Regions from separate parts of the Homo sapiens genome. Here all the other regions are linked to region 2. Evidence: promoter capture Hi-C in 16 types of primary human blood cells and fetal thymus (Javierre and others, 2016). All regions are on one chromosome and are shown on one strand. The core of a region is centred on a gene start or on the middle of the fragment in contact, and the rest is flanking DNA. Distances in the headings are between cores, read along the strand shown.

The links. Contacts are between HindIII fragments. The CHiCAGO score rates a contact against its expected background, and 5 or more counts as called.
Region 1: a contact is called between the fragment with the promoter of CDK7 here and a fragment that was not itself captured in region 2, in 1 of 17 cell types (monocytes). The highest score is 5.0, in monocytes.
Region 3: a contact is called between the fragment with the promoter of CCNB1 here and a fragment that was not itself captured in region 2, in 2 of 17 cell types (non-activated CD4 T cells and activated CD4 T cells). The highest score is 5.7, in non-activated CD4 T cells.
Region 4: a contact is called between the fragment with the promoter of CENPH here and a fragment that was not itself captured in region 2, in 5 of 17 cell types (total B cells, activated CD4 T cells, monocytes and 2 more). The highest score is 11.3, in total B cells.
Region 5: a contact is called between the fragment with the promoter of TAF9 here and a fragment that was not itself captured in region 2, in 4 of 17 cell types (non-activated CD4 T cells, total B cells, neutrophils and 1 more). The highest score is 10.7, in non-activated CD4 T cells.
Region 6: the fragment with the promoter of KIF2A here is called in contact with a fragment that was not itself captured in region 2 in 1 of 17 cell types (naive CD8 T cells); the score reaches 6.6 in naive CD8 T cells.

The regions. Positions count from the first base shown.
Region 1 is chr5:69,233,599-69,236,298 of GRCh38, forward strand. It overlaps CDK7 (cyclin dependent kinase 7), which reads left to right and starts at 1,288. Exons shown (of 12, transcript NM_001799.4): 1 at 1,288-1,443; 2 at 1,796-1,855. The coding sequence starts at 1,378. RefSeq lists an enhancer at 1,010-1,538. The HindIII fragment of the contact is 18,686 bases long and covers 717-2,700 here.
Region 2 is chr5:65,626,586-65,629,285 of GRCh38, forward strand. The region is part of intron 1 of TRAPPC13 (trafficking protein particle complex subunit 13); the gene reads left to right. The region is part of intron 1 of SHLD3 (shieldin complex subunit 3); the gene reads left to right. Among named protein-coding and RNA genes, the nearest start is that of TRAPPC13, 2.9 kb to the left of the region's middle. The HindIII fragment of the contact is 3,647 bases long and covers 1-2,700 here.
Region 3 is chr5:69,165,804-69,168,503 of GRCh38, forward strand. CCNB1 (cyclin B1) reads left to right here and starts at 1,347. Exons shown (of 9, transcript NM_031966.4): 1 at 1,347-1,480; 2 at 2,105-2,275; 3 at 2,370-2,540. The coding sequence starts at 1,460. RefSeq lists enhancers at 1,027-1,992, 1,373-1,602. The HindIII fragment of the contact is 10,262 bases long and covers 1-2,700 here.
Region 4 is chr5:69,188,315-69,191,014 of GRCh38, forward strand. CENPH (centromere protein H) reads left to right here and starts at 1,269. Exons shown (of 9, transcript NM_022909.4): 1 at 1,269-1,454. The coding sequence starts at 1,321. It overlaps LOC112267932 (a long non-coding RNA gene), which reads right to left and starts at 1,163. Exons shown (of 2, transcript XR_002956215.2): 1 at 677-1,163. RefSeq lists enhancers at 881-1,120, 1,048-1,342 and a silencer at 1,201-1,320. The HindIII fragment of the contact is 12,435 bases long and covers 1-1,843 here.
Region 5 is chr5:69,368,070-69,370,769 of GRCh38, forward strand. It overlaps TAF9 (TATA-box binding protein associated factor 9), which reads right to left and starts at 1,451. Exons shown (of 3, transcript NM_003187.5): 1 at 1,394-1,451. AK6 (adenylate kinase 6) reads right to left here and starts at 1,451. Exons shown (of 5, transcript NM_016283.5): 1 at 1,394-1,451. The coding sequence starts at 1,421. It overlaps RAD17 (RAD17 checkpoint clamp loader component), which reads left to right and starts at 1,749. Exons shown (of 19, transcript NM_133338.3): 1 at 1,749-1,864. RefSeq lists an enhancer at 2,003-2,552. The HindIII fragment of the contact is 4,867 bases long and covers 1-1,932 here.
Region 6 is chr5:62,304,883-62,307,582 of GRCh38, forward strand. KIF2A (kinesin family member 2A) reads left to right here and starts at 1,324. Exons shown (of 21, transcript NM_001098511.3): 1 at 1,324-1,654. The coding sequence starts at 1,591. RefSeq lists a silencer at 1,028-2,057. The HindIII fragment of the contact is 9,341 bases long and covers 1-2,700 here.

The sequences.
Region 1 (2,700 bases), core at 38-2,537, 3.6 Mb after region 2:
AACCCAGGAGGCAGAGGTTGCAGTGAGCTCAGATCGGGCCAGCGTACTCCAGCCTGAGCAACAGAGTGAGACTGTCTCAAAAACAAACAAACAAACAAAGGCAGGGGGAGGGGGGCACATTTCCATGTTGACAGCTGCTCTGGCTCAGAAACTTTTAATTATCCACTAGTAGAGCCATCTGGATTACTGCAATAGTTCTCTAATAGGCCTTCTTTCTTTTTCTTGTCCCTCAAAATCTATAATATAGTCTCCCAACAGCAAGAGTGAACCTTTTAAAAGTGAGTCAGGTCATATCACTTGTCTGCTCCAATCCCTCCAGTGGGTTTTCAGTGATGACTTTCTTGTACCACCCTATTTAAAACCTCCATCCCTGCCCCTGCCCTGATTTGTTATCCTTTATCTGCTTTATTATCTCTATAGCACTTATCACCTATGTATCATAACACATATTTGACTTGTTTTTTTATCTCCTCCCATTGGAAGGCAGGGATCTTTGCTCCCTGCTATCTCAGATTCTACAATGGTGCTTGGCACATAGATAACACTCAATATCAGCATCCTAAGAGAGAGAAAAATGAAAAAGGAAAAGCACTCAATATGTTTTTGAATAAATGAATTAGTGTGTTTGTTATGACAATTTATGATAATCAAGGGGTTGGGTACTCATTACTGCTAAGTTAATTGAGCACTGTCTCAATTAATTGAGTTAATGTCTAAGCTTTCTGCATGTTTCATTTAATACCCACAATCTCCTGTGATGTAGTTCATTATTTTTTCCATTTTACCGAGTAGAAAACTGAGGACTAGAAGCTGATTCCCACAGCACGTTTCAGTTGAGTTGGATTTTGTTTTCCTGGGCCTGCTTCTTCATAAAGGGACTGGACTAAGAATACTCTTGACCAGCCCGTAAGAACTTGGCACTCGTCTCAGTAATCTGAGATAGCAGGGTTTGGCGTCCATAGCAACCACGGCGACAGGACGCGCTCGAGCAAGAACCAAAAAGCGAGAACAGGTACAAGGCCAAACTTTCTACATTCACAGACACCTACCAAACCCCGAACATGGAACACCAAATTAGAACGCTGACCAGTTCCTGGTAATGTAGAAAACACCCAAGTTAAAACGGCAACAGAGTGACACAGCAGCCATTGAAGATGCCCCACTTCAGGCACCGACAGGCGTCACGTGACGGGTGGGGAACGCCAACCGCCTGGGCCTAGCGCAGCTTCCTCCGCCCACCACGGAAGTGAGGCGGGGATACTAAAGCGACGGAGCCCGGTGGACGGAAGTGGGTGTTGGAGGCTTTAAGGTAGCTTTAAATTCGTGTTGTCCTGGGAGCTCGCCCTTTTCGGCTGGAGTCGGGCTTTACGGCGCCGGATGGCTCTGGACGTGAAGTCTCGGGCAAAGCGTTATGAGAAGCTGGACTTCCTTGGGGAGGGACAGGTGAGGCTCTCTGGAAGGACGGGGAGGGCCCCAAGCGGACAGCCCCGCGCCGCCTCCACCTTTGCGGGTTTTCCCGTGGAGGCCAGAGGTCTGGCTTGGCTGCTCGTTCTCGTTGGGGGAAACCGTCCAGACGCACTTGCTGCCCATTCTTTACATCCTGGGGGTGAATCCCTGAGGGGCCTCTCCTTGCTGAAGAGTAGCCTGGAGCTGGACGGAGACTGACCCGCCACGTTTCCAGCCGCCGCGAGTCTGCTCAGGAACTCTGGGCTCTTTGCTTCGCGAAATGTAAAAATGCAAAAAGGCAAACACAAAAACTCCCATAAACTTATGTTATTTCTATTTTTCTTTCTAGTTTGCCACCGTTTACAAGGCCAGAGATAAGAACACCAACCAAATTGTCGCCATTAAGAAAGTGAGTTACCTTTTTATGTTGTTTTTAAGTCTCCTTGAAGATGTCTGTATTATTAATTGACTGATAGCCATTTTATTAGTCTTGACCATACTCTGATAATGAGTTACTCATGTCATTTTCAGAGACAAAATAATTAATTAGTGCTTTGTGTTCCCAAACGGAACTCTAGGGTTGAACCCGTTTTAATTTCTATTGAAATGAAGAAGAAGCTGTATGTTATTTTTACTGCATAAATTCATATGTTGTGGGCAAGTACTGCCCATCTTTTCGGTCCTCAGAACTATTGGATACCATGATCTTTCTAGGTCACTGTTTATACCTCACCTGCATCCACTCAGTGTGTCGTATCTGTATTTTCTGTGTACGGATTTACCATGAAAGACTTTCACTAGCATGAACAACATTGATGTGAGGTCTAAAATGAGTTCAGTAGCTTCTTATATTCATTCAAAAGACCTGGGTCGGATTCAGTAGCTTCTTATATTCATTCAAAAGACTTGGGTCGGGCCAGCCGCGGTGGCTCACGCCTGTAATCCCAGCACTTTGGGAGGCCGAGGTGGGCGGATCACTTGGGGTCAAGAGATCCAGACCATCCTGGCCAACATGGTGAAACCCTGTCTCTACTAAAAATACAAATATTAGCTGGGTGTGGTGGCACCTGTCTGTAATCCCAGCTACTCGGGAGGCTGAGGCAGGAGAATCACTTGAACCTGGGAGGTGGAGGTTGTAATGAGCCGAGATGGTGCCACTGTGCTCCAGCCTGGTGACAGAGGGAGACTCCATCTTAAAAAAAAAAAAAAAAAGATTTGGGTCATAATTACATAACTCACGTTCACCTACATTGT
Region 2 (2,700 bases), core at 71-2,570:
GTTAGCCAGGCGTGGTGGCGGGCGCCTGTAGTCCCAGTTACTCAGGAGGCTGAGGCAGGAGAATGGCGTGAACCCGGGAGGCGGAGCTTGCAGTGATCCGAGATCACGCCACTGCACGCCATCCTAGGCAACAGAGCGAGACTCCATCTCAAAAAACAAACAAACAAAAAGTTAAATTCCAGTGATACAGAGACTGCCACTGGGAATTTTTAGTTTTCTGTTATTCTTTTTTTTCCAAAACCAAGGATACCTAAGAAAGAATATTTAAGCAGCCTAAGCCAGGCGTGGTGGCTCACGCCTGTAATAGCACTTTGGGAGGCCGAGGCTGGCAGATCACTTGAGATCAGGAGTTGACACCAGCCTGGCCAACATGGCGAAAACCCGTCTATACCAAAAATACAAAAATTAGCCAGGTGTGGTGGTGTAATCCCAGCTACTCGGGAGACTGAGGCAGGAGAACCGCTTGAACCTGGGAGGCAGAGGCTGCAGTGAGCTGAGATTGCGCCACTGCACTCCAGCCTGGGTGACAGAGTGAGACCCTGTCTCAAAAAAAAAAAAAAAAAAAAAAAAAAGAACAATAAGCAGCCTAAACGGACAAGTGCTTCAAAATTGACTGATAGTTTCAACTTTATTAAACCTCTTTAGTACCATCTTATAGTTAACCCATTGTTCTAGTTAATCAACAATTTTCACACATTTCAATGTGCTGATGCTGAATGCCAAATGTATTAATTTAAGTGGTCATTTAAGTTCACTTTATCTTTTAATATGTAAAATGTTAAAGATAATATCTTGTTATTCTTGGTTGGGTGAGGTGGCTGATCACTTGAGATCAGGAGTTCGAGACCAGCCTAGCCAACATTATGAAACCCCGTCTCTACTGAAAATACAAAAATTAGCCAGGCGTGATGGTGTGCACCAGTGGTCCCAGCTACTCAGGAGGCTGAGGCACAAGAATCACTTGACCCTGGGAGGCGAAGGTTGCTGTAAGCCGAGATTGTGCCACTGCACTCTAACCTGGGCAACAAAGACTCTGTCTCAAAAAAAAAAAAAAAGTCATCCCTTGAGTATAACACTGATTGACTTTAGACAACAAGAGAATTTCTCAGTGCCATATTTTACAATGTGAAAGTATAAGGAACAGGGAAGAAAAACATTAGTGCATCATTAGTTCTTGAAAGTATATATGATAACATTTAGATCCATATTTAAAATATGGATGTTAAAGATCACAATTATTTATGAATTTGAGAGTTGTCAGATCTGTTAGTGGGCAGTATCAGTAGGTAAAAATAATGAAATTATTTCTTCTAACTCTTCAGAATCAGACAGTGATTCTATTGTGAAATGATGACAAGAATCCATACTCATGGTTATCCTAGCAGTGGGAGAACCCTCATCAAGTAATTCTCTAATGATTTTTGGGGAGAAGGGATTCAACTTATTTTTTTCTGCTGTTGTTAGGATGTGAAAAAGTCTGTTTTATGGCTCTTACAGCTTTGGGCCTGATTAGCAAGCCTAACTTGCAGATATTGGAAGGCTCCATTCTTGAGCCTATGCACCATATGCTGGAATTTATTATCAGTGACTTAATTTGGGGCAACTTGAGGACTTCTGTGCTCTAAGAGAAAAAAATAGGAGTCTAGACTTCTTGTTCTCTTCCAAACTGGAATTCAAAAGCCATGGTATTGGGGTCTCCATACTGTTTAATTGCCTGGATTATGAGGAGAAGACAGTGTCACAAAACTGGTTCTTAGCCTGGTTAAACCATATTAGCAAAGTTAAACCATATTAATGGTTTTAGTTTTTACTACAGAGAATGACGTGAAATCATCAAATATTCTATCTATATATTTGTTTGGTGGAATCCATATAATTTTTTTTTTTTTTTTGAGACGGAGTCTTGCCCTGTCACCCAGGCTGGAGTGCAATGGGAGTACGATGGCGCGATCTCAGTTCACTGCAAACCTCAACCTCCCGGGTTCAAGCGATTCTCCTCCCTCAGCCTCCTGAGTAGCTGGGATTACAGGCACACGCCACCACAGCCGGCTATTTTTTGTATCTTTAGTAGAGCCGGAGTTTCACCATGTTGGCCAGGCTGGTCTCAAGCTCCTGACCTCGTGATCTGCCCGCCTTGGCCCCCATAAAGTTCTGGGATTACAGGCATGAGCCACCGCACCTGGCAAATCTACATAATTTTAAGTATAAAATGATTAATTTTCTTCCAGACAGATTAGAATTTTTTTTTTTTTTAATGAGATGAAGTCTTGCTCTATCGCCCAGGCTGAGTGGCATGATCTTGGCTCACTGCAACCTCTGGCTCCCAGGTTCAAGCTATTCTCCTGCCTCAGCTTCCCTAGTAGCTGGGACTACAGGCATGCGCCACCACACCCAGCTAATTTTTTTTTGTATTTTGAGTAGAGATGGGTTTTCACCATGTTGGATTAGAATTTACAGTGATTTCATTGTCCTCAATTTAGTTGCCTCAAATTTTTAAATATTACATTTTTTGTTAATTCATATGAAAACAATATTTTAAGAATCATTCATTTACTCTTTGTTTCTGCTAAAGTTTTAAGACTATTATTACTTAATATATTAATATCGATACTTCCAAGTCCTTTATATCTATTGAGTTAAACATGTTGACTACTAGCGTTTTTAGGCAGGAAGTGATTTTATAGGGCATCTAGTTCAGAT
Region 3 (2,700 bases), core at 97-2,596, 3.5 Mb after region 2:
AGGATAAGTAATCCTGCTTCGCCCCTTGCCTCTCGCCCCTGCATGGGGCGAGGAAGGATTGATCAAACCCAGAAAGACTGAGTGAGAATGGATGTTGAACACAGAACTGAAGGATGAATGGGAGTTACCTGAATAGAACCCAGGGGCTTGAATGCAAGAAGAGGCGGGCATTCCAGGCAGAGGAGAGCAAGGGTAAGGGCCCCACGGGAGGCATTCGAGTAGGAGGGTGAACTATGATGACAGAAGACTCAATAACGATCCAAAGAAACCAAATGATTGGGCGCCTTCTTTCGGATCCGTGACTTCCAGCGCCAGGAGTCTCTATTGGCTCTTATACCGTTGCTCTATGGGATAGCAATGTTTTTGTCCTTCAGCCTCCCCTCCAATTGCTGAGCTGCTGGTGTGTTTTGAGGAGTAGAAGGCAAAAAGAACCCTCTTGTTTTTCTTTGGATCTAGAGAGAATCTGAGCAAATGACAAAGCAAATGGGGTAAAATGTCTTTTTGTTTAGTTTTTCCTGATTTTCCCATGAGAGGCAAATACATGTTAAGGATAGTTGAATCTGAGTAAAGGGCATAGAAATATTCCTTACAAGATTTTTGTTGGCAACTGGTCTAAGTATGAAATTATTTCCAAATAGAAAGCTAAAACAAACAAAACAATTGGCCTTGGGAAACTGGACAATCTTGAAGTAATCAAGTAATATTGTTAAGGGACAATCAGTGTTGTGAAAACAACACGGATACACCCCCTCCCTCCCCCTCAAAAAAAAAAACCCTAAATTCAGTTCCCCCGTTGCTAATGTGTGACCCTGGCAAAGTCATCTAAGTCGCTGAGCTTCAGTTCCTCCAACCCAGAGAGTTGTTGCAACGATCAAATGAAAGAATGTCTATTAAAGCCTTTCATGAACTATATTATTGCTGCTACCGTAGAAATGGAAAGTGTGCAACACTAGATCCAAAACTACTTTTGACACTTCTGAGACTGTGGCCGCGCCTCTGTCACCTTCCAAAGGCCACTAGGCCTTTCCTGAGCTGGCATTGGCAACGCACACTCTTGCCCGGCTAACCTTTCCAGGTGGGCGGCGCACTGGCTTCACTGCTCTCCAGGTGGCCGCTGCAGCTGCCCGAGAGCGCAGGCGCAGAGGCAGACCACGTGAGAGCCTGGCCAGGCCTTCCGGCCTAGCCTCACTGTGGCCCCGCCCCTCTCGAACGCCTTCGCGCGATCGCCCTGGAAACGCATTCTCTGCGACCGGCAGCCGCCAATGGGAAGGGAGTGAGTGCCACGAACAGGCCAATAAGGAGGGAGCAGTGCGGGGTTTAAATCTGAGGCTAGGCTGGCTCTTCTCGGCGTGCTGCGGCGGAACGGCTGTTGGTTTCTGCTGGGTGTAGGTCCTTGGCTGGTCGGGCCTCCGGTGTTCTGCTTCTCCCCGCTGAGCTGCTGCCTGGTGAAGAGGAAGCCATGGCGCTCCGAGTCACCAGGGTGAGCCGCTTCGGACTGCGAACTAACGCGGCCTTCTTAGCTGCTGCCTGCTCTCCCTGCCTCGCCTGCGGGAGCCTCCCGAGCGGGAGAGGGCCGCAGGAGCGATTTGGGGAGGAAGGTGGGAGGGGACTCACCAAGAGAGCGCCGAGGTGGGCCCAGGCCTGGTGAGAGAGTGTGGGGGACGATGGATGGAGGGAGGAAGGTGAGAAAGAGAACTGGACGGATATTGGATAAATGTTTTGGGGAGGTGGAGAGTCGACTGGGAACCTTTTGAAAAAGTGATAGAGGGTCCCTGAGTGGGCCCGCCAGCAACTCTGTAACCCCCTTCCCAGAGAGAAGGTGTCTGCAATTGGAGGCTTTTTCGGTTTCCTTTCAAATGTAAATTCTCGGTATTTTAGGGCTGGCCAGGACTAATCAGGGAATCCCTCAATTGGTAAATGTAGAGGTCGGCGGAAACTGACTTGTCACGGCCGCAGAGTAGACTCTGGGACCCATGTTTTCCCTCGGAACCCATTTTTAGTCGGCTTTCTTTCTGGGAACTTCTCCTTGTGCCCCACCTTAATTAACCCTTGACTTACTCGAGCCTTCGTGGATCAGCTCTTAAAGTGGTCTTGCTTCTTTCAGAACTCGAAAATTAATGCTGAAAATAAGGCGAAGATCAACATGGCAGGCGCAAAGCGCGTTCCTACGGCCCCTGCTGCAACCTCCAAGCCCGGACTGAGGCCAAGAACAGCTCTTGGGGACATTGGTAACAAAGTCAGTGAACAACTGCAGGCCAAAATGCCTATGAAGAAGGTAACTCTCTTCCTGACCTAACTTCTGTAAGAGCCCGCCTTCCAACTGTGGCCTTTGATGCAGAAACATTTCATTCTCTCTGTTTCATCTACAGGAAGCAAAACCTTCAGCTACTGGAAAAGTCATTGATAAAAAACTACCAAAACCTCTTGAAAAGGTACCTATGCTGGTGCCAGTGCCAGTGTCTGAGCCAGTGCCAGAGCCAGAACCTGAGCCAGAACCTGAGCCTGTTAAAGAAGAAAAACTTTCGCCTGAGCCTATTTTGGTAAACTTATTCTTACCATTGTAGAGTCTGTTGATTATTTCTTGTCCCTTATTTCACTGATACATGCAAGAGCATTCAAATGAATAGTAATATTAATACCATTTATTGAGTGCTTAGCATGAGGCAAGCTCTGCCTAACATTTTACATGCATTAACTCAC
Region 4 (2,700 bases), core at 19-2,518, 3.6 Mb after region 2:
CCCCCCTCGGCTTCCCAAAGTGCTGGGATTATAGGTGTGAGCCACAGCGCCCGGCTTTTTTTTTTTTTTTTGAGACGGAGTTTCACTCTGTCACCCAGGCTGAAGTGCAGTGGCGCGATCTCAGCTCACTGCAACCTCCGCCCCCCCGGGTTCAAACGATTCTCCTGCCTCAGCCTCCTGAGTAGCTGGGATTACAGGCGCCCGCCACCACACGCAGCTAACTTTTGTATTTTTAGTAGAGACGGGGTTTCACCATGTTGGCCAGGCTGGTCTTGAATTCCTGACTTCAGGTGATCCACCCGCCTCAGCCCCCAAAGTGCTGGGAGTACAGGGGTGAGCCACCACGCCCAGCGAATTTAACTTTTGTCAGGAGCCGTATTACATTGACAATGGAGAGGAAGAAAACAGCACAGTATGATCAAGTTTAACTAGTGGGTAATTAGCTGTAAAAGAACTCTCGACTCTTGTTCAAAGAGGTTCAAGCTGCTGTGCTTGTGCGGCAAGGACAGTGTCCAAATGAAAAACTACAAATCAGTCATCTGTCCTTCATTTTCTCCATTCCCCCCACTCACTACACAGCTAAGAAAGCTCAAAGGTACCCTGCAGACACTCAAAACTTGAGGGCACGCAACTCTCAGTTACGAGTGGTGGCAATCATAATGACAGAATGAAGTACCAGTGCAAGAAACTGGAAGCGTGTGGATGTCTCCAGGCTGGAAGTCTGGGTTCGAAATGTCTGCAATGCCTCGCACTTGTGGCCCGTCCCTGATCTTCAGAAGCCACTGGTTTCTCCGCCAAACAAAGGGTATGCACCTCATGGGCTCAGGTCAAAAAAGTCTTCTAAACAACCCTCTAATGTTTATCTTTCACAGCCTGCCGGGCACACCCATCTTCAAAGGCAGAGGACGGAAAAGTGCCAAGATGGATGGACATATGGCTGTCGCCGCACTCCCGTGTCCAAGCGCCAAGGCCGAATGACCACTTAGGTCAGGAGATTTTTCCCCTCCAGGCTGCTGTTCCCGGGAGATGTCCCAACGTCTCTAGTCCAGCCCCTAACTCAGCACTCTACACATCCGACGCTTAACGAAAGCTATTCCAACTTTTTACCAGCCGTCTGCAGTTATTTTCACCAGTAGAGCCCGGATGAAAGAGGAGCCCGTAGTAACCACGGCAACCGAAAAACAAGGCGGAAAGGGTGGGGCCCTGGGCGGAAGGGGCGGGGCCCTCGGGCCTTTTCCCGGCGTCCATTTAGTGGCGGGAAAAGCGACCTTTTCTGAGCGCGTTTGCCTGTTGAGTGGTAGCCTTTCCCCTCAACCAGCAATGGAGGAGCAGCCCCAGATGCAAGACGCCGACGAGCCCGCGGACTCCGGAGGGGAAGGCCGGGCAGGCGGGCCACCGCAGGTCGCCGGCGCCCAGGCGGCGTGCAGCGAGGACCGCATGACCCTGCTCCTCAGGTTGTTCCCTTTGGCCTCCTCAGCCGGGGCCAAGTGGGCGTTGTGGCCCGGAACTCCGCCCTTGCTCAGAAGGGCTAGGGTTCGAATTCACGCTCGGTCACGTCAGGTCTCCGTGATTGCCTCATTCACTTAAACTGTTGAAGCTCTTTCTTCATCAGCGAAAAGGAGAGAAAAATGACCCCCTGGAGAGAGGTTACAAGGGTTAAATGAGATAGTCTAGGAAAGTGTTGAGCACAGTGCCCCGGGCCCTTAGAAGCTGTAATTTCTCCTCCTGTTTCCCCGCCCTCCCCCTACCTCTCTGGTTTACAGACAAATTGAATGCCAGAGCTAAACTGGAAGGAAGGTGCCCCTACCATTTCTTTTAGAACTACGACCCTTTGTAACCCAGAAGCTTTATATGTTATAAATTCTACTAAGCGGACGGTGTTTATACTTTTCCACTAAGCGGTTGCTGGGGAAGATTCGATGAGAAGGGACATTCGTCTTCTAAACTAGTGAGCAGGAGAAGGTCCTGGGCCAAATCTGCCTAACTGCCTATTTTTGTGTGACCACTCAAGCTAAGAATAGTTTTTATGTTTAAGTGTTGCAGGGAAAAGATCATAAAAATATTTCATAACACGTGAACTCTATTAGAAATTCAAGTTTCAGTTTCCATAAACAGTTTTATTGGAGTACAACTTTCCTGCCACAAGGGTGGAATTGAGTAGCTAAAACAGAGACCGTGTGACTCACAAACCCTAAAAAATTTACTATCAGGTCCTTTACAGAAAAAAATTTGCGGTCCTCTGTTCTATATCATAACAGAGGTAGTTTTAAAAAAATCATTATTGGCTGAGCGCGGTGGCTCACGCCTGTAATCCCAACACTTTGGGATGCCGAGGCAGACGGATCACCTTAAGTCAGGAGTTCAAGACCAGCCTGGCCAACCATGGCCAACATGGTGAAACCCCGTCTCTACTAAAAATACAAAAATTAGCTGGGCGTGGTGGCGGGCGCCTGTAATCCCAGCTACTCAGGAGGCTGAGGCAAGAGAATTGATTGAACCCGGGAGGCAGAGGTTGCAGTGAGCAGAAGATTGTGCCATTGCACTCCAGCCTGGGCAATAGAGCAAGACTCTTGACTCAAAAAAAAAAAATTAATTACCATTTTTTTCTTTCTTAAATGTTTTGAAAAATGAAAAGATGTCTATTTCTTTTTTATTGTTTTTTCCTCCTCACCCTTGCTGTCATCTTAAATTACCATTTGC
Region 5 (2,700 bases), core at 201-2,700, 3.7 Mb after region 2:
ACTGACCCCTTGCGCCCTTCCCTAGAGATAACCACTGTAAACCAGTTTCCTTTCCCAAAGAAACCCTATTTATGTTTGCATGTAAATGTACATATATGTACATACTCTTTGTTATATAAATACAACACATATTCCCTTTTACATAAATGACAATACTATATACATTGTTCTTTACCTTCCCCTTCTGATACCTATTAAAATTACATTTCAAGATCATCAAATTCATAATTTTCAGCTATTCAGATTTAACATCCCTGAAATTAAACTTAAGCATAAAGATAACAGGGATAATCCAGTTCCCATACCCAGGAGAATAACGGTCACCTCAAGTCCACTATAATACACCAAGTCTGAACCCTGGACTCAACATGTTTTCAATAAAATGTTCACTTTAAAGTTTTGACAATGACTTAATAACCAGGGCACTATGTTTGATCCATGCAAAAAGATGTAAAATCTTCCGCTTAAGGAATCTAAAATTCTAAACGTTATTTGTGGGGTGGTTAATCTGCACCTCTCAGAAACAGACATGTCTTGTGCGCTGCCAACAATTTTACCTTTGGGTGAATGATGTAACTTTACTGTTCCCACAAAGAGTCTTAATTTTTCTGTACCTTGCAATAAAATCTACATGCATTAGATTTTTCCACGAATGGCCTACAATTTGATAAACACTTTCAGGACTAAACGGCTAGCAAAAATATTCGTTAAAGTCGTTATGCAGCATTTTAATTCCCTTCACTGATAACATGCACCCTGAGTATGGCTTCAAAGACCCACTCCTACGCGAGAAACGACCCGAAATGCTCTATATGCCTTCCTTTTAAGGGGCGGGGGGATCCTTTGATGTAACTCAACAAAAGCATACAGCAATTTCGTCACGTCACAAACATCTGAACTCGTTTACCGAAATCTAATCTGAGGCGTTTATCAGAAGCAAAGAAAAAATAAAATACGGCCCACGGAGGCCTAAGGAGTGAGGCATCCACCATTAATGACTCTACCGGGAAGCAGATATGGCCTTACGTTATTTCGCTAAAAATCCCAAGGCCAACCCTGCCAAAGAATCAACAACCCATTTTACAAACGAAATACCAGATTCAGAAAGACTAAGCAGGTTGCCAAGCTGGAGAGCTGGATCTGCCGACCTCTCTCCACCCCCCCCCGCCCCCCCCCGGAGCCTCAGGCCAACGGAATTAACGTTCCGCGTCCCCTCCCTCGCCTCCCGCAACGCCCGCGAGGGTCGGCTCCCGGGGCGCTGACAACCGCCTCGTGGCCCTCGGCCGGCCTCTGAAGAGGGCAGTGAGGGGCCCCCACCTGGGCGCCCGATGCCCAGAGCACTCTGCGCCCCCAGCCTGCCCCAGCCCAGTCCCTCCCGGCCGCGCGCCCTGACCGGTGAGCAGGATGTTCGGAAGCAACATGGTCCCCGCCGCGACGGCTTCGGGCGCCTCGCTCACGTGCCCTTTGCTCTACAGGGAGGAGCCGGAAGGGGCGGGCGGCAGCAAAAGCCCACGGCCCCAAAGGCCCCGAAGCCCACCGCGGCGCCCCTAGCCTGCCCCGGCGGCCCAGCCGCGGCCCACTGGTTACCTGGCTTTCGATGACACATTTCCGTCGCAAAGTTGGAGGGTGGGCATAACTCGGGTCGGTACTTCGGGTCAGGCAGTGCGCTGGATGCCTAAGTCACACACTCCTTCGGTGGTCCCCGCCCTTCGCTTGCGCCGACCAGTCTGGAAGGTCCCCGGGAGGCCGTACCTCCGAGAGGCTCGGCGTTGAGCCCGGGTAGGGCCAGGTGGCTGCCCTTTCACCTAGGGTAGTCCCTGGTCGCCTCCGCTCTTCGCCTAAAAGGGGATGCAGCTCCGGGAAAGTAAGGCCGCCGCGGTTGCGGCTATATTATGTATATGTCTTAGAGACGTGAGTCTATCTCTGCCTTCAAGCTTTCCTGGGCTCTCGTCGCTCCTCCTCCCGACCCGCCCATCCCATCTGGGGATGAGAAGATTGAGGGTGCAGAGCCCTGTCCTGCAGCGGGGATTTGCGAGCTCAACCCGGCACCCCACTGATTACAGGATTACGTTGGACGAATATTTGAGCTTAGTATTCCCTGTTCACTGTGTGGGGTGGTGGTGGGTCGGCTAGGAATAGTCTTGAAGGTCTACCTCTGACATCTCATTTCAGTAACCTCGCATCTTCAGGGACAGTTATCTGCTTTTTAAAGGAGGTAATTGTCAATCTTGTTTTCAAGAGTGAATAGAGACCTGACCGTGACAACAGTCTGCACCTTTTTTTGTTTGTTTGTTTGTTTTTGTTTTGTTTTGAGACGGAGTCTCACTCTTGTCGCCCAGGCTGGAGTGCAACCTCCGCCTCCTGGGTTCAAGTGATTCTCCTGCCTTAGCCTCCAGAGTAGCTGGGATTACAGGCGCCCACCACCACGCCCGGCTAATTTTTGCATTTTTAATAGAGACGGGGTTTCACCATGTTTTGGCCAGGCTGGTCTCAAACTCCTGACCTCAGATGATCCGCCCGCCTCGTCCTCCCACGGTGCTGGGATTACAGGCATGAGCCACCGCGTCCGGCCCCTGGTCTGCATCTTTTATTTCGAGCTACAAACTATATTTACTCAAATAGGTGTTTTTTTTCCACCTGTATACCTTTTGAAACGTCACAGTCTCTAATCGTGAACGATTTGGGGCGGAGGGCTGAACA
Region 6 (2,700 bases), core at 74-2,573, 3.3 Mb before region 2:
GGGAGATTATCAATGACTAGGGAAGGCCGGGCGCAGTGGCTCATGCCTGTAATCTCAGCACTCTGGGTGGTGGAGGCGGGTGGATTACCTGAGGTCAGGAGTTTGAGACCAGCCTGGCCAACATGGTGAAACCCCGTCTCTACTAAAAATACAAAAATTAGCCAGGCGTGGTGGCGCGGGCCTGTAATCCCACCTACTCGGAAGGCTGAGGCGTGAGAATCGCTTGAACACAGGAGGCAGAGATTGCAGTGAGCGGAGATCGCGCCACTGCACTCCAGCCTGAGCGACAGAGCAAGACTCCCCCTCAAAAACAAACAAAACAAAACAACAACAACAAAAAACAATGACTAGGGAAAGTAGGCCATGAAAAGTGTTGTTTCCAACCTATCAATTGCCAGTACTACAAGCAGGAGTTAGACGTTTGGAGGTTTTCACACGGTGCTATAAATACAGTTTCCAGGGCCCCGGTACACGTGGCCTTCCTGCTCTGCCAGGATGGAGAGTCTTGCTTTCCACATTGCTGATGTGGTCAGACTAATTAAATTATTGCAAAAAGACACATTCCCTAGTCAACCTTATGTGTCTGCCTTCTTCCCTTGAGTCACAGTTGTTGGCTTTACAGGCCAAGGCAAGTAAGTCTTGAACCCTCAGCAGAAACAGGGCACCAGCATCGGATGCCTCATAACCTGAACAGTTAAGGACGCCCCACCACAGAGCTTCTTTCTGAGTGTGATAAACTATAAGGCAAGACTGTAAAGGGGTGGATCTTCATTTCGATTTAGGGTAGGTGACACCTCAAGGGTGTTTCTTCCCTTCCAGCGTAACTGGATGGGAAACCTACACCAAGTGTGCTTGGGAGGGCTGCTTGGGTCAGCTACCTGTAAGTGGAAATAGGGGGTGCCACCTTCCGATGAAAACCCGGATCCCGTACTGTCAACGGAGGGCCCTTGAATTCACATCCCTCAGCCCGCTAGAAAGCCCCTGAAACCACGTGGCCTTTAACCCATTCCGGCAACAGCGCCAATTCCCGGAAGCGAGAGGGCAAGAAAGCTCGGCGCGACGCTTCCCGCGTCTTCTAGGCCGCGCGCTGAAATCAAACGCGACGCCGGCTAGCTGTGGGCCGGGCCGAGCGCTCAACGCTCCAGCGGCTGGGTAAGCCGCGGCCGCCGCCCACCCCGCTGCAGAGCTGGGCGGGGCCGCCTGGAGGCAGCGGGGAGAGGCCAGCCGAAAAGGAAGAAGAGACGCCGGAGGCGCGCTCTGCGCAGGCGCGCGGCGCCCCGCCTCCCCAGCGTCGGCTCCCCGGCGGGCGGTGCGGGCCCTCCCACTCTACCCCGCGCCGTCTCACGGCCCCGGCCCTAGCTTCACCCCGACTACCCGGCGTGCGCGTCCTCCTGCCGGCCTGCAGGCCCGGGGCCTCCGCCTGCTTCCCCACAGCTGCTCCTTGCGGCCCCGCTTGCGTTCACGCTGTCGCCCGGGCCGGCGCGGCCGCGGGCAACCGCTCCCCCTCCCACACCTACCCCGCCCCCTCCCCGCCTTTTCCGCCCTCCGGTCCCCCTCCCTCGGCCCGCTGCTGCTGCTCCAGATGAGGTGATGGCAACGGCCAACTTCGGCAAGATCCAGATCGGGATTTACGTGGAGATCAAGCGCAGCGATGGTGAGCCGCGCTGCCAGCCCCGCTGGCCCGCTCGGCCCCGTGTTCGGGTGTGCACGGAGGGGACGCGGGCGCCGGCCGCCTCATTGATTGCTTCGCCGGGCTGTGGGGGTGGGAAGGCGGCGGCCGCGGCGCTTTTGTGTGTGGCGTGTGTGCCAGTGAGGCCGGCTTGGGGTCCGCCCGGGCGCTGCTGCAGTTCTCCGGATCGGGCCGCGGGGGAGGGAAGCCGGGTGGGGAAAGGGCCCGGGTGTCGAGGGTCGCGTCTCCGGGGGTCTCTGGGCGAGGGCCGCTCGCTCCTCCTCCCGCAATCTCCAGCCCCCCCCCGGGGACACCAGCCCGGGAGGGAGCGGGCTTCGTTAGGGATGACCCTGCCTCGCGCTTCCCCTTGGTCTTTGCATTTTACCGGCTTGGCCTCTGACGGGGATGGGGATGGGGGTGGGGGAGCGGGAAGACCAGCGATTTCACATTTAGAGAACCGACTGCTGGTCGGAGGCCGAGATGGGGGGAAAGAGCCAGTTCCGTCGCCTTAAACTGCCGTCTGGTTGTCAGGCCTCCCCGGTTTCGTCGTCGACCATGCTGCTTTCTTTTTTGCCACTTCTTGGGAGAAAAATGTGGAGAATATCGCGCTGAGCCATGAATAAGGGTGGGGGAGCAATGGGAAGAAATATTCGATGGGCTTCTCCAAGGTGATGAGACTGTAAAGGGAATGATAGGGGATGGGCAGAGTCAATGCGAGGCACTGCTGAGAGAGTGGGGGTGGGCGACCGGATGTTGATATTTTCACACCCTCGGGAGAGGTAACTGAGAAAAGTGTAAGGCGAGGTGAAGACACATGCTTCATTTTTTTTTTTAAGAGCCTTAGGCTTATGTATCTTTCTCTAGGTTTCTCTTGGGGAAAATGGTTTATGACACTAGCTTGGGGTGTGGAGTGAGATACGCCAGCCAGACTGGAAATAATTCATATTGTAAAGGAATAAATGCACGGAGGGAGATAAGTAAAATTATTTTCTTTCGGTACCAATATTGAAAGAACGAGAGATGTGTGATAA